Regions from separate parts of the Homo sapiens genome. Here all the other regions are linked to region 5. The links are contacts of gene promoters, found by promoter capture Hi-C in blood cells and fetal thymus (Javierre and others, 2016). All regions are on one chromosome and are shown on one strand. The core of a region is centred on a gene start or on the middle of the fragment in contact, and the rest is flanking DNA. Distances in the headings are between cores, read along the strand shown. Region 1 overlaps HELQ (helicase, POLQ like). Region 2 overlaps HPSE (heparanase). Region 3 overlaps MRPS18C (mitochondrial ribosomal protein S18C). Region 4 overlaps ABRAXAS1 (abraxas 1, BRCA1 A complex subunit). Region 5 holds the start of COPS4 (COP9 signalosome subunit 4).

What was found. The method cuts DNA at HindIII sites, captures the fragments that hold promoters and counts their contacts. A CHiCAGO score of 5 or more calls a contact.
Region 1: a contact is called between a fragment that was not itself captured here and the fragment with the promoter of COPS4 in region 5, in 2 of 17 cell types (neutrophils and naive B cells). The highest score is 10.4, in neutrophils.
Region 2: a fragment that was not itself captured here is called in contact with the fragment with the promoter of COPS4 in region 5 in 2 of 17 cell types (naive CD4 T cells and total CD4 T cells); the score reaches 6.0 in naive CD4 T cells.
Region 3: a fragment that was not itself captured here is called in contact with the fragment with the promoter of COPS4 in region 5 in 5 of 17 cell types (naive B cells, monocytes, naive CD8 T cells and 2 more); the score reaches 6.6 in naive B cells.
Region 4: a contact is called between a fragment that was not itself captured here and the fragment with the promoter of COPS4 in region 5, in 1 of 17 cell types (fetal thymus). The highest score is 5.3, in fetal thymus.

What each region holds. Positions count from the first base shown.
Region 1 is chr4:83,435,167-83,437,959 of GRCh38, forward strand. It overlaps HELQ (helicase, POLQ like), which reads right to left. Exons shown (of 18, transcript NM_133636.5): 9 at 1,692-1,931. Among named protein-coding and RNA genes, the nearest start is that of HELQ, 19 kb to the right of the region's middle. The HindIII fragment of the contact is 3,055 bases long and covers 1-2,793 here.
Region 2 is chr4:83,304,059-83,307,120 of GRCh38, forward strand. It overlaps HPSE (heparanase), which reads right to left. Exons shown (of 12, transcript NM_001098540.3): 9 at 2,145-2,259. Among named protein-coding and RNA genes, the nearest start is that of COQ2, 21 kb to the left of the region's middle. The HindIII fragment of the contact is 462 bases long and covers 1,327-1,788 here.
Region 3 is chr4:83,458,888-83,461,972 of GRCh38, forward strand. MRPS18C (mitochondrial ribosomal protein S18C) reads left to right here. Exons shown (of 6, transcript NM_016067.4): 4 at 853-910; 5 at 2,086-2,145; 6 at 2,234-3,085. The coding sequence ends at 2,310. ABRAXAS1 (abraxas 1, BRCA1 A complex subunit) reads right to left here. Exons shown (of 9, transcript NM_139076.3): 9 at 630-3,085. Among named protein-coding and RNA genes, the nearest start is that of MRPS18C, 4.4 kb to the left of the region's middle. The HindIII fragment of the contact is 1,313 bases long and covers 756-2,068 here.
Region 4 is chr4:83,478,835-83,481,954 of GRCh38, forward strand. The region is part of intron 2 of ABRAXAS1 (abraxas 1, BRCA1 A complex subunit); the gene reads right to left. Among named protein-coding and RNA genes, the nearest start is that of ABRAXAS1, 4.7 kb to the right of the region's middle. The HindIII fragment of the contact is 5,215 bases long and covers 1-3,120 here.
Region 5 is chr4:83,033,790-83,036,489 of GRCh38, forward strand. COPS4 (COP9 signalosome subunit 4) reads left to right here and starts at 1,394. Exons shown (of 10, transcript NM_016129.3): 1 at 1,394-1,509. The coding sequence starts at 1,436. RefSeq lists enhancers at 914-1,033, 1,107-1,401, 1,164-1,513, 1,614-1,663, 1,704-1,763 and 2 more. The HindIII fragment of the contact is 6,632 bases long and covers 1-2,700 here.

The DNA of each region.
Region 1 (2,793 bases), core at 78-2,577, 400 kb after region 5:
TAATAGGTGTGTAATAAAATATGACCTTCCTCACAGAGTTATTGTGAAGCTGTATCAAGTCAATGCATGTAAAGTTGTTACTACATGAAAGGGAGGGGAATGTAGTAATTACAACTATTATTATACACCATGACAAAATTGGGAGGTTAAAGAGAAAAGTCTAAAAGTTTCTGGAAAAGAAAAACAGAAAATCCATGCAGAGACAAAAATGAGCAACATTGGCCTCTAGAAAATATGGAACAATATTTACAAAATCCCTAAAGGAAAAAAATTGAATCTAGAATTCTTTTGCTAGTGAAGTGTAAAAGTGTGAGGCCAAAATACAGATATCTTCAACTATGCAAAGAGTCAAAATGTTTTACCCCCTAAAGCGGTATTCTAAAAAGGATTACTCAAGGAAGGCAAAATTAAAAAAAAAAAAATCAGAGAAGAAAGATGTGGGATATAAGAGGCAGTGGTAAGCAAAAAAGAAGTATGATTTACAGGTAAGTTTAAATACTACATAAGATGAAAGAAAATGTTTAAATCTGGCACTAAAATTCTAAGTAATTGCAACATTCATGGGGCAGAGTAGAATATACTAAGGACATGCTAAGCCTCTTTTTATGTTCAGGAGAGGACAGTTATTGATTAATTCTAAAGTAATAAAAAATGTTTGGTTACAACTTAAAATTTTAAGAGTAACCACTGGAATAATAGAAACAGGATATATAACTTTCATTTTTTTCTTCAATTGTCTGAAAAATGGAAAACTTAATGAGAGACAGAAATTGAAAATAAAAGAATGGAAAAAGGTACATACGTGGCAAAAAAAAAAAATGAGTCCTGGTATTCAAAGCAAAATTATTAAATGAGAAAAACAAGTATTTATTGTATTGATAAAAGGTATAATTCGGCAATAAGATATTTGAAGTAAACCTTTGTATATCTAAATAGTTTTGAAATATAAAAAGTAATAACTTCTAGAGATGCAAAAAGGAGAAACTGATAACTACATAATTAAAGTGGGAGACTAACACACTTCTCTGAAATTGATAGACCAAGGAATCAAATATAGTAAGAAAATAGAGAAGCCGATAACACAATGAACCTCTGTGATCTCGCTGAGATGTACAAAACTGCATATTCAACTGAAAATACATATTTTTTTAAACACTCATGGAAAGTTTATAAAAATTGATCATTTATTAGCAAAATACCCCATGATCATAAATTATAAAGGGGAGAAGTCAATTACACAGGCCTACACCTTTGGTAATAACTGGAAAGGTAATCAAGGGCCTGCTTTAAAATACATATATTAGACACAAATTGCCTATGGATCAGCTCTCCAAGATTTCAAGGAAATCTCTATGTTAAATAAACTCTTTCATATCATAAAAAAGGTAAAACACTTGCCAACTATTTCTACAAAACCAGATTAATAGACCCTAACATCAAAACCAGATATAAAGAGCAGAAAGGATGGAATTCTAATATCAAGAAATCTATTAACGTTATTTTTCATTACATATTTCATTACATATTCATTAAAATATTAAAGAAAATAAACCAACCAATCAACTCAGCATATGCTAAAAGAACATTTGATAAATTCTCATCCACTACTGAGAAAGCATAAAACAACAAAACTCCTCGCAAGCTAGAAATGGAAAAGTTCTGAGCCTGGTCAACACTTACTTATCTCTTACCTTCGAGCTGGTAGGTTGACACCTGCCGCTAGGGTAGATGTGCAGGTAAAAAGACAGAGCACTCCTGTGGAGTAGGCCTCCTCCAAGAGTTTCCTTTCATCACTTGTTAAGCCACTGTGGTGATAGGCAACTCCAAATGGGATAGTGCGCTTTAAAACAGGACACAGGTTGCCATTGCCAATATTCTTCAAGTTCTTAATCACCTCACATTTTTCTTTCTCCTTATGTTTCAGATATTCCCTATGAAAAAGATCTGTTAGAAATATGAGCCCTTGATCTTTTAGTGACAAAATTTCTACCATTTTCATTTTAGTAGATGCTAATGTAAACATTCTTTAATGTACTATTTCCATTGAGTTAAGTACATTAAATGTTCTTAGAATTTTGATTCTGACTTCATTAACTATTAGGCAGTCTCTCAATCTTTTTGTGGATTACAGAACCCTGTGAAAATCTTATCAAAACTAAGGAAAGGCGAAATGCGATGGCTCATGCCTGTAATCTCAGCACTTTGGGAGGTAGAGGCAGAAGGATTGCTTGAGCCCAAGAGTTCAAGATCAGCTTGGGCAGTGAAGCAAGACCACCTCTACAAAAAATAACAAAAATTAGCCGGGCATGGTGGTGCATGCACCTGCAGTTCCAGGCTATGGGGGAGGATGAGGTGGGATGATTGCTTGAACCCGGGAGTTTGAGGTTGCAATGAGCTATGAACCTACCAGCCTGGGTGAAAGAGCAAAGCCTTGTCTAAAAAAAAAAAAAAAAAAAAGGAAAAATATAACTATTTACATAAATACAACACTTTACATATAATTTCAGAGGGTTCGTGGATTTCCTAAAATTCATTCCTGTACTTCCTTTGAATCCATGGACACCAGGTTTAGACCTTTGCTCTGGATGTTATAACTGTTTTTTTCTTTATAACATATATCTTTATAGGGGATAGTTTTTTTAAAGACATAAATTTTCTTTTCTGAAGATGGAAACATACATATTATTAAATCATACTTCCATGGTAAAACACTGCCTAAACACTTGCACTTTAGAAACTTCACATCCTACAATGTTTCCATCACTTAGCCAGTGTCTCCATCTTATTACCTTG
Region 2 (3,062 bases), core at 308-2,807, 270 kb after region 5:
GTATGTTAACAGAAAATACCAGGGAACAAGTAATTCTCAAAGAGGTGGCTTAGAACTCCAGCTTATAGAGCAAATTTTTGGACAAGAGACATGACAAAGGAAAAGGATTTTTAGTCTCTGGGGTGGCAAGTTGTGGGAAGGAAAATAAATGAGTATGTAATATAGATTCTTCTAGTGCCATCTCTACACTGATAAGGGTCTGAAGTTATCTTCAGTGATTAACTCTTGTTTTTCCTGGTAGAAAGGGAAGGAGGGGGACTTTTAAGATTCATGTCCTGCTTTTAGGCAAATGGAGAAGGACAGAGAACTTTTCTTCTATGTGTTTCTTCCCAGTTGCCTTTAGCTCGAAATAATCCTTATGCCAAAGTGGCATATTTTGGGGTGGCATATTCTAGTCTCCTAAAGTGGGTTCATATACTTTCCTCTGTATTTTGTATATGATTAAAATTTTCTATAGTAAAAGTTTTTCTTAAAAAACTGCGGATCGGTGGTGGGCACAATGGTTCATGCTGTAATCCCAACACTGGGAGGCTGAGGTGGGATGATCACTTGAGCCCAGGAGTTTGAGACCAGCCTGCACAATACAGTAAGACCTTGTATCAATTTTTAAAATAATAAATAAATAAATAAATCACCATTCAACACATACCCCAACTTTCCTTCTTGAAAGTAGAGGGAAAGTAGACTTAACAAGACAAATGGCTTTTGTTTCTCTGCTTAAATTCCACTTTTTCACTGGAGACAAGAGTGGAATCAATGTTTTCAAAGGAGACATAAGCATGGGTCAATGACTGGTAGGGTAGAAAGTATGCAGGCCTCAGAAGCAGGATTTGAATGGGATTTTTAAGAGTAACATAGGACTACAGTATGGCTTCCTGTAAATCATGCAACCTCTTCTCAATTTGAACTTCCTTATCTAAAAAATGGATCCAAGATACCTGCCTTGCCACCTCACAGGACTGTCATGCAAATAAAATAAAGTCACAGACATGTAGAGTGAGTTTAAGTCTAATTCTCTTGGATCTACAAGTGAGAAGGGTACCATTTACTCTTGCACATTTTTCTAGCTGACTGAGAACCTTGAAGGAGAAGCATATTTAGTGCATATACAAAGAGTTCGTAAGGCAAAGGTTTATGTCTGGGCCCTGGGAAAATTTGGATGAGATAAAAAGGTCAGGAGTAGATTTTGAATGTTTGTCTGGTGAAATTACTATGCTTAGTTTAACTCTATACATGACAGAATATACTTGGGGAAAGATAAATTCCATTTTTGCAAGATCACTTTTCTAAGAATTTTCTAAAAAAAGATGACTAATATGTTCCACAAGCTTGGATCACTATAGATAAAAAGCAATTTTGTTGGGAAGTCTATCCACAAACCACAAAAGCCTAGCTTATATTTTCACGTACGCTCTTTGCAAAATTTCTTAGCTTTCCTACAACATTCAAATAATTCTTTTAGGAATTATTCTTAGAAAATATATATCTGCAAATGACATTTTAGACTATAAAAATCAAGGTCATGCTTCTCAGGGCTACATCTGTATTATCCCTGACATATATTTAGACATACAGATCTTCCACGAGGCTTTTTGGGAAGAAACATTTCCTGATTTAGCACCAGATACAGTTGGAGGAAGGATTAGAAATAAGACTTTATTCATAAATATCTTGAAGATTATTAACAACATAGTAAATTCTTAGCATGAGATTTTTAAGCAAACACATGGTACTGGCTCATTTTAAGGTTAAATAAATTACAATTTCATAACATAAAAAATGTTTTGAAGCTTTGCGTACTGTAGGCAATTATAACTTTGATTTACTTTGTAAAACATTTGAAAATCCAACTTATTTTGTCTTGTATAATGAGTCATAAAATTTCAAATTATCCCCTTTTAAACAAAATCCACACTATACTGCAAATGGCTTACCTTTAAAAAGTTATTCCTAGCTCTTGATTTCTTCTCTTCAAACACACAAAAAAATGTTAGATTGGATGCTATCTAAGGCTCCTTCTAATTCATCATCTCATGATTTGGCTAGTTACTGAGAGGACTGACTGTTCATAGGAGGTTAACACCAGAGGTCCTGAGTTGACTTTAATCTACTCCACTAGAATTAGGAAAATAATGGTCACTTACAGGTAAAGGATCGAAGTTTTCATCCACTAAATGGTAGTTTCCTGCTCCAAAGAATACTTGCCTCATCACCACTTCTATTCCCATTCGGGCTGACAGGCCCAATTTATCCAGCCACCTGGGACAGAGCAAGACCAAGCTTTCTTGAGGTTTGGAAACAAAATCGCTCAATTCTAATTGCACACCATCTTGATTTTATTTATGTATTTATTTATTTACTTATTTATTTATTTAGAGACAGGGTCTCACTCTGTCACCCAGGCTGGAGTGCAGTGGCGTGATCATAGCTCTCTGCAACCTCAAACTCCTGGGCTCCATTAATCCTCCTGTCTCAGCCTCCCAAGTAGCTGGGACTGAAACCGCCTTTGCAAAAATTATAACTGAGGAAATTATGACAGTGAAAGAGATCAGACCTCATTGACTCCATCTTGCTTCTAACCTTTAAGCTGTCCTTCTTCATTCCTGGGTGTAGGCTGAACTAACTTTGGGAAGAAATTCAGTTCATGGTTTGACTCTGAAACAAAAATGATAATAGCCCTTTTCTGAAAAGACCCCCTTCTTGCCTGGGGACAAGTCTACCTTTGCAGGACTAACAAATTAGCTACAACATTAGAGATTACGGTTTAGGGATAATGCAGCCTCTGGCTCCAAGAGTCTGAACCTCCCCAAATTGTTCCTGGGGATAACATCACTGTTGTAAAACCTAAGATCAGTGCTTGAGATATCTTGCAGACCCTGAACTGGGTGGATCATTTGAGACCACCCAGACCGGTAATCTGGCCCAACCAGTTCTGCCATCCCATCCAGGAACAGAAGACAGCAAGAAAACCTCACTTCCACTCCCTGTGATTCCATCTCCAACCTGACCAACCAGCACTCTCCACTTCCTAAGCCCCTACCGGCCAAATTATCCTTAAAAGC
Region 3 (3,085 bases), core at 162-2,661, 430 kb after region 5:
GTAATCCCAGCACTTTGGGAGGCCAAGGCGGGCGGATCACCTGAGGTCAGGAGTTTGAGACCAGCCTGGCCAATGTGGTGAAACCCCGTCTCTATTAAAAATACAAAAATTAGCTGAGTGTGGTGGTGCATGCCTGTAATCCCAGCTACTTGGGAGGCTGAGGCAGGAGATTTGCTTGAACCCAGGAGGCGGAAGTTGCAGTGAGCTGAGATCGTGCCATTGCACTCCAGCCTGGGTGACAAGAGTAAAACTCTGTCAAAAAAAAAAAAAAAAAAAAAAAAGAATTCCATATATTGACAATAGTATAAAGTGATAGCTGCCTTTGAGGAAGAACCAAGAATTACAAAAACACACATACTAGGAAGATTATGCAAAGTGCCAAGAATAATGACTAGCACCTAGAAAGGTTCTAAAGAAGTATTTAAATAAAACATAAATTATAGCAAATGCCTGGTGTACTTGTACCTCTTGAAAATCTCATTACCCCCTGATAATTTATCTTAATGATTATCAGAGGGTAATGTGATAGCTTGTCAGGATAGATGAAATTTTTTAGTAGCTTGTTTCAAGCAATATTTTAGAAAGGTATCTGTGGAAGTCAAGAAAACAGATTTACCATTGAATGAATATGCTGATTAATCTGCTGTTTAATTATATATAGACTTGACACACTGGATAGAAAATATTTAAAAGGTAACAGGAGGATAACAATATTTTTTTCTTATATTTTATGAAATGTGTCTGAAATTTAGTAAAGCTTTATATAACCTGAAGGTTGTTTTTTGAAATTTACACATTCAGAAATAAATAACAGATACTTTTTTTTCCCCTCCACATAAAACTCCAAAACAGCTTTTGTCCCAGTTTGTTTCTCCATTTACTGGATGCATTTATGGAAGGCACATTACAGGTATGTTCTTTTTTATTATGGGAATATAAATGTAGATACGAATTATATCAATCTATTTCTATCATTTAAGAAAACTCAAATTTTCAAATTGTGCTATAAATTACTACTAGATCAGATACTACAGGGACTAGAGCTAGTTACTATGAAAAAGTCTCTTAGGCCAAGAGGATTATTATTTTGCTGTCTTATGCAGAGTTAACTATATAGAAAAACTGGGCTTTAAAAAACTGTTGTTGATGTTTTGGAATATACTATAATCATTCCTAGATTGATACTTAAACTTGGTGTCAGCAAACTATGGCCCATAGGCCAAATTCGACCTGCTCCCTTTTTATCTTGATTAGGTTCATCATATACAAATGCCACTTTTTTTTTTTTTTGAGATGGAATCTCACTGTCACCCAGGCTGGAGTGCTGTGGCACAATCTCGGCTCACTGCAACCTCTGCCTCCTGGGTTCAAGTGATTCTCATGCTTCAGCCTCCCGAATAGCTGGGATTACAGGCATGCACCACCACGCCTGGCTAATTTTTGTATTTTTAGAGATTGGGTTTCTCCATGTTGGCCAGGCTGGTCTTGAATTCCTGACCTCAGGTGATCCACCTGCCTAGGCCTCCCAAAGTGCTGGGATTACAGGTGTGAGCCACTGCACCCAACCCCACTTGTTTTTGTAGTTTTGTTTACGTAGTGCCATATGGTTGTTTTCGAGCTACAACAGCAGAGTTGAGTGGCAGTGATGGAGACTGTATGGCCCACAAAACCTAGATTATTATTGTGGCCCTTGACAAAAATGATTTACCAATCCTTGACTTAAAAACTTGTTGAGGCTGGGCATGTTGGCTCACACCTGTAATCCCAGCACTTTGGGAGGCTGAGGTGGGCAGATCACCTGAGGCCAGGAGTTCAGGACCAGCCTGGCCAATATGGTGAAACCCCGTTTCTACTACAAATACAAAAAAATTATCCGGGTGTGGCGGTGCATGCCTGTAATTCCAGTTACTAAGGAGGCTGAGGCAAGATAATCGATTGAGCCTGGGTGGCGGAGGTTGCAGTGAGGCGAGAGAGCACCACTGTACTCCAGCCTGGGTGACACAGGGAGACTCCATCTCAAAAAAAAAAATTGCAAACTTTAAATATTGACATTTTTTATGAATAAGAAAGCTTTTTATTTTACAGGTCTTTGTGGGAAGAAACAGAAAGAAATCACAAAAGCAATTAAGAGAGCTCAAATAATGGGTAAGAAAGAATACCTCAACAACTGAATTGAGCTAGCTGAAATTTTGCTCATTATGTTTTGTCAAGAACTTTAATTATCTCTTTACAGGGTTTATGCCAGTTACATACAAGGATCCTGCATATCTCAAGGACCCTAAAGTTTGTAACATCAGATATCGGGAATAAATTCTATCACGTTACCACTAATAAACTTATTTTACAGTAAGTGGTTGTATGATGCCAATACTGACTCAAACCAACCTTTGGATAGAAAAGTGTTTGAGGAGTGAGGTAAAGAATGACACTTCCCCTTCATACCAATGTCCATTAAGCAGATTGCTTATTTAAAATGTTAACACTCATCACATTTTATCTATGTTGAATAAAAGTGGTTCTGTGTGATTGTCATTTATATCTGATCCCCAAATAGCTCATACAATAATCCATTCAATAGAATGGAATTAAAACTGTTCAGAATGATTTTCCAACTAGCAAATATAAGTATGCCTGGTTAAGATATCTTCCCTTTGTAGAAATGTTACATTGGGATGGATAGTGGTGCTGTCACAGAAGGACAAAATATTCCTAGACGAGTCTACCCTCAAACCAGTAGTGTCTTTTACATGAAGAGATGATTTACACCTAATAGACATTGAATATGATAGACATACATGTATATATGTATCAGTTCTGAGTTCCACTGGCCTATCCCAAATACACTGGATTACCAGGCTTGTACTGTATTCAAAATGATAGATTTGCTAAATTTCATGCAAAGGACTCTAAACTAGGGGAGAGATTACTGTTTGTGTTGTGTTATAGTTGTGTAATAATTAAGGCTGCCAGATTTAGCAAGTACAAATGTAGGACAAATTTAAATTTTAGATGATGTTTTGCAAATTTATTGCATGATATCCAGCATTTTATCTGGCAACTCTAGCCATAATGTACTTCTAAAAAA
Region 4 (3,120 bases), core at 350-2,849, 450 kb after region 5:
AAAAAAAATTATAAACTGTATTAGCATATGTATAAAACATGACAAAAGCCCAGTTTCCTTAAGTAATGTGATTACAAATCACTAAAAGCAAAACAGTACAAATGCAGCCAAAGAATAGGCCTATCCTTTTCAGAGAAAATGGCCAAGAAAAAAAGTAAAAAGTATCAAAAAAATACTTAACCTCTTTTGTAATTAAGAAATGCAAATTAAAATGCTATTTTTTTCACTTATCAAATTGGCAAAGATTAAAAGATTTGATAATACCTAGTGTTGGCAAGAGCATGGGGGCCGGGCATGGTGACTCACGCCTGTAATCCTAGCACTTTGGGAGGCCAGGGCGGGCAGATCACCTGAGGTCAGGTGTTTGAGACCAGCTTGGCCAAGATGGCAAAGCCCCATCTCTACTAAAAATACAAATATTGGCTGGGTGTGGTGGCAGTCGCCGGTAATCCCAGCTACTCGGGAGGCTGAGACAGGGATAATCACTTGAACCCGGGAAGCAGAGGTTGCAGTGAGCCGGAATCCCACCACTGCACTCCAGCCTGGGTGACAGAGTGAGACTCTGTTTCAAAAAAAAAAAAAAAAAAAGAGTATGGGGACCTAGGCACTTTTATATACTGTGGAGAAGCCTAAAATGGCATAAGTTTTCCAAAAGGCAATCAGCTAGTCTACCTCCAGGAGTGTGACTTTCAAATATACACTCAACAGCACAAAGAAATGTACAATACTAAATGTTCATGGTAATACTGTTTATGTTAACAAAAAAACCCAGAAAATCATTCTTAGATGGTTAAAAAAATTATGGTACGTCTATACAACAGGATATATGCAGCCAGCAGAAAGAATGATGGGCCGAGTATGGTGGCTCACCCCTGTAATCCAAACACTTTGTAATGACAGGAGGATTGCTTGAGCCTAGGAGTTTGAGACCAGCCTGGGCAACAAAGTGAGAACCTGTCTCTACAAACAATAAAAAATTAGCCAGGCGTGGTGGTGCATACCTATGGTCCCAGCAATACAGGAGGCTGAGGCAGGAGGATTGCTTAAGCCCAGGAGGTCAAGGCTGCAGTGACCAGTGTTTGTGCCACTACACTCCAGCCTGGCTGAAAGAGCAAGACCTCATCTCAAAAAAAAAAAAAACAAAGAGTGATGAATTATACACACAGATACTATTCTGTACTTGTGATATCTTGGGAGATATTAGGCACATATAGTAAGATCCCATTTGTGTAAATAAAAAGTATACACATTTGGCCGGGCATGGTGGCTCACGCCTGCAATCCCAGCACTTTGGGAGGCCGAGGTGAGAGGATCACTTGAGGTCAGGAGTTCGAGACCAGCCTGGCCAACATGGTGAAACCCCATCTCTACTAAAAATACAAAAAAAATTAGCCGGGCATGGTTGCGTGTGCCTGTAATCCCAGCTACTCCGGAGGCCGAGGCAGGAGAATCGCTTGACCTCGAGAGGCAGAGGTTGCAGTGAGCCGAGATCATGCCACTTCACTCCAGTCTGGGCGACAGAATGAGACTCCATCTCAAAACAAAAACAAAATGTATATATACACATATATATACACACACACATTTACATTTGTGTGTTTTATGAATATTGCAAGCTAGTAAGAATCCATGAAATAGTAGTTGCCACTAAGGAAACTAATGAGAGTTTAAATTTTTTATTTCCTACTTTATATATTTCTATTTTTAAACTTGTAAAGTAGCAAACAAAAATAACATACAGTATGAGTACAAACTGATATAATCTTTCCGGAAAGCAATCTGCTAATGCAGATCAAAAACCTTACAAGTGTTCATACCCTGTGACACAGTAATACCATATCTAGGAATCTATAATAGATAACGCCAAATATTGATATACAAGGATATTCACTGTAGTATACTTTATGATAATGAAAAACTAGAAACAGCTGATTATAACATATTTAAAGGAATGTTTAAATCACAGTAAGGCCACAGGGTAGAACACAATGCAGTTATGAAAAATAGTATTGTAGGCCAGGCATGGTGGCTCACGCCTGTCATCCCAGCACTTTGAAAGACCGAGGCGAGTGGATCACTTGAAGTCAGGAGTTCAAGGCAAGCCTCGCCAACATAATGAAACCCCATCTCTAATAAAAATACAAAAAGTTAGCCGGGCGTGGCAGCACACGTCTGTAATCCCAGCTACTTGGGAGGCTGAAGCAGGAGAATCGCTTGAACCTGGGAGGCGGAGGTTGCAGTGAGCCGGGATTGCGCCACTGCACTCCAGCCTGGGCAACAGAGTGAGACTCTGCCTCAAAAAAAAAAAGAAAAGAAATGAAAAATAATATTGTAGAGGATTATGCAACATTGTAAAGTGATCATGACACAATATGATGCCAAACCTTTTATAAAGTACACTACCAATTTTGTTTAAAAATACATACACATATATAGAGAAAAACTATATTAGACAATCAGAAAACTCCCTATACATTTTATTTCTTTTAACCATTTTTTTCCCTATGCATTTTAAAGGTTCTCCCCTGCTTTTCCCTAAAAGAGAAGCTGCCACCAGTTATAACTGCTTTAGCACCCACTCCTCAAACCCTTTACAGCCTGGTCTCTTCCCCATTACGCTCCAGAAATTACTGAGGATTTTCAGTCATCTAATAATCTAATTACTGCATTTTCTCAGTTCTCATCTTCCAACTTTTCTGCAGCATTTAACATTTTATCTTTTTCCTTGGTCTTCCTATTGCCGGGCCATCTTCCTACTAAACAGCAGGTGTTTCATCCTTGTTTCCCTGGCAGTAATCTTATCTGCTTCCTAAGTCTCATACTATTTCTTACTTTAGACCAGTCCATGGTCATAATTTTAACTGCAAAATGAGTACAACATATCCTTTTAAATTATTTTAAAATTAATATATATTTCTTATTTTTCTTTTTTTGAGACAGAGTCTCGCTTTGTTGCCCAGGCTGTAGTGCAGTGGCACAGTCTCGGCTCACTGCAACTTCTGCCTCTCAGGTTCAAGCAATTCTCGTGCCTCAGCCTCCCAAGTAACTGGGATTACAGACATGCACCACTACACCTGGCTAATTTTTGTATTTTTAGTAGAGATGGGTTTCACCATGTTG
Region 5 (2,700 bases), core at 144-2,643:
TGTTTTTTTTTTTTTTTTTGAGACGGAATTTCCCTCTTGTTGCCCAGGCTGGAGTGCAGTGGTGCAATCTTGGCTCACCGTAACCTTCGCCTTCCAGCTTCAAGTGATTCTCGTGCCTCAGCCTCCCGAGTAGCTGAGATTACAGGCACGTGCCACCACACCCAGCTAATTTTTGTATTTTTAGTTGAGACGGGGTTTCTCCATGTTGGTCAGGCTGGTCTCGAACTCCCGACCTCAGGTGATCCGTCCACCTCGGCCTCCCAAAGTGCTGGGATTACAGACGTGAGCCACGGCGCCAGCCCTCAACATGAGTTTTGGAGAAGACAATTATTTCAAACCACAGTACCAGGAAAAGTGCAAAAAAAAAAAACCAAGGCAGAACAATTATGTGGTGTTGCTTGTGAGAGGTAAAATTTTATTTTATTAATATTTGCTTGTATTTGCAGAAATTCTATAAGAATACATGAGTATTGAATGTTATACAAACGCAGGCGACCATATAATCTTCCATTGAAATGGAACGGTTTCTAGAATGAAAGGGAGGATGTTATTATTATTATTATTATTTTTTGAGACCGAGTCTCGCTGTGTCTCCCAGGCTGGAGTGCAGTGGCGCGATCTCGGCTCACTGCAAACTCCGCCTCCCGGGTTCACGCCATTCTCCTGCCTCAGCCTCCCGAGTTGCTGGGACTACAGGGGTGCACCACCTACGCCCGGCTAATTTTTTTGTATTTTTAGTAGAGAACGGGGTTTCACCGTGTTAGCCAGGATGGCCTCGATCTCTTGACCTCGTGATCCGCCCGCCTCGGCTGCCCAAAGTGCTGGGATTACAGGCGTGAGCCACCGCGCCCGGCCGAAAGGGGGGATATTAATCATTACTCCAGGACGACAGAGGGAAAATCGCTTTGTACTGGACAAACTGGAATGTCTGACCAACCATTATAAAGTGCACGGAGTGGGAGGAGGAATAGGGACATTTTAATTGTATTTCTAAAAAGTATCTTCTGTGGTGAATCGGAAACAAAACTCATTCTTTACCACAGGCAGTTTAAGCGCTGCCTGAAAGATCGAAGGACGGTAAACCACAGACGTGAGAAACGGAACTTTGCGAAAACGCAGTCGTTTTATGTACCGGCTACTCATTGGAGTTACACCAGAGACTCACTACTGGAGTTCATCAGCCAATCCAAAGTCCAAGCGTGAGAGCCAGAGCCTGTAGGAGAGACCTGGGCAGGCCTCAGACCTGAGGAGTGGAGCTCCGCATCACTCAACCCTGGGGGCGGAGCTAGCCCAGGCTCCCACACCCGACGCTCTGGCCCACACAGACGCTACTCTGTAGCATCTCAGGTTCCCTCTGGCTGCACTCTGGAGGACCACACTCGTTTTCTTTTTGGCTGCCAGAGGCCCCCGCATCCACCGCTGAGCTGGGAGAAAGATGGCGGCAGCCGTGCGACAGGATTTGGCCCAGCTCATGAATTCGAGCGGCTCTCATAAAGATCTGGCTGGCAAGTGAGTATTTCCCAGGAACGCGGGAGTACAGAGGTGGGGAAAGAAAGCCACAGCCTTAATCTCCTTAGGTTGGCCACGGCTCTTGGGCGTGAAGCTAGGAGCCGGCCTGACGTCCAAGGGGGCGGGCCTGAGGTCGGCTGGGGAGGCAAATGTTGGGAGAAGCAGAAAGCTGGAGGGGACCTTGTGCAGGGGCCTTCGAGGCTATAGACTTGAAATGATTGTCAGCTTGTTCAGTTCTTGATAGAATCTTTCTGGTCCCTTAGGATTTTGGAACAGCGGTCTGAGAGACGACTGCTACCCTGGCCTTAGTAGCCTTCCCTGGTACCTCTTCCCATCGCTGGCCGGCCTCACACCGAATCTGGCCTCTCTTTGGACCTTCCTCCTCTTTTTTTTTGATTCAGAGAAATGTATATTCTGGGGCCTTGATGCTGCGTTTTTCGGGGAGATGGCTTCTTGGGGCTGGCTGAGGTTGAGGCGGTATGGCCGCTGTCATGTCGTCCAGACCATTCAGACTGTCTTCTGTGGGTCCTTGTGTTTCGGGTATTTTCTCTGCCACCAACTCTGATGGCACATAGGCGGAATGTGCTCATATCGTGGGTCAGGATGTCTACAGTAGTGATGTTTGCAGGAATCTGAATTTTGTCGAAATTTATATAGAATGCTTAGGTTCACTCCAAGTTAAAATGTGTGACGTGCCTGTTCTGCAAGCAGTTGTCAACAGTATTAAGCATAGGTAGGTAGACGTATATTGTTCATTTTCTCTTTGTAGATGTCACAGCATTTCTCTTTTGTAATGAACATGCTTTCTGTTTAAAGTATGCCTCTCTAGGCCGGGTGCAGTGGCTCACGCCTGTAATCCCAGCACTTTGAGAGGCTGAGATCACTTGAGGCCTGAGAGATCTGAGAGGGAGGATCACTTGAGGGCAGGAGTTCTAGACCAGCCTGGGCAACATAGTGAGACCCCCCCCCCCGCCGCCACCCGTCTCCGTAAATAAATAAGTAAATAAAGTATGCCTCTCAAGTTGATCTTAATGTTTACATCCTGACAGCTGAAATCACTTTGATGTATATTAATGGGATACACCTGTTCTAACCTGGTCATTGAAATTCTGACTGTTTTAAGTAGGCTAGGCTGCCTTTTCTCTGGTGGCAAACGTAATCTACTTTTATCAGTGGGAAATTCAGCCGTAT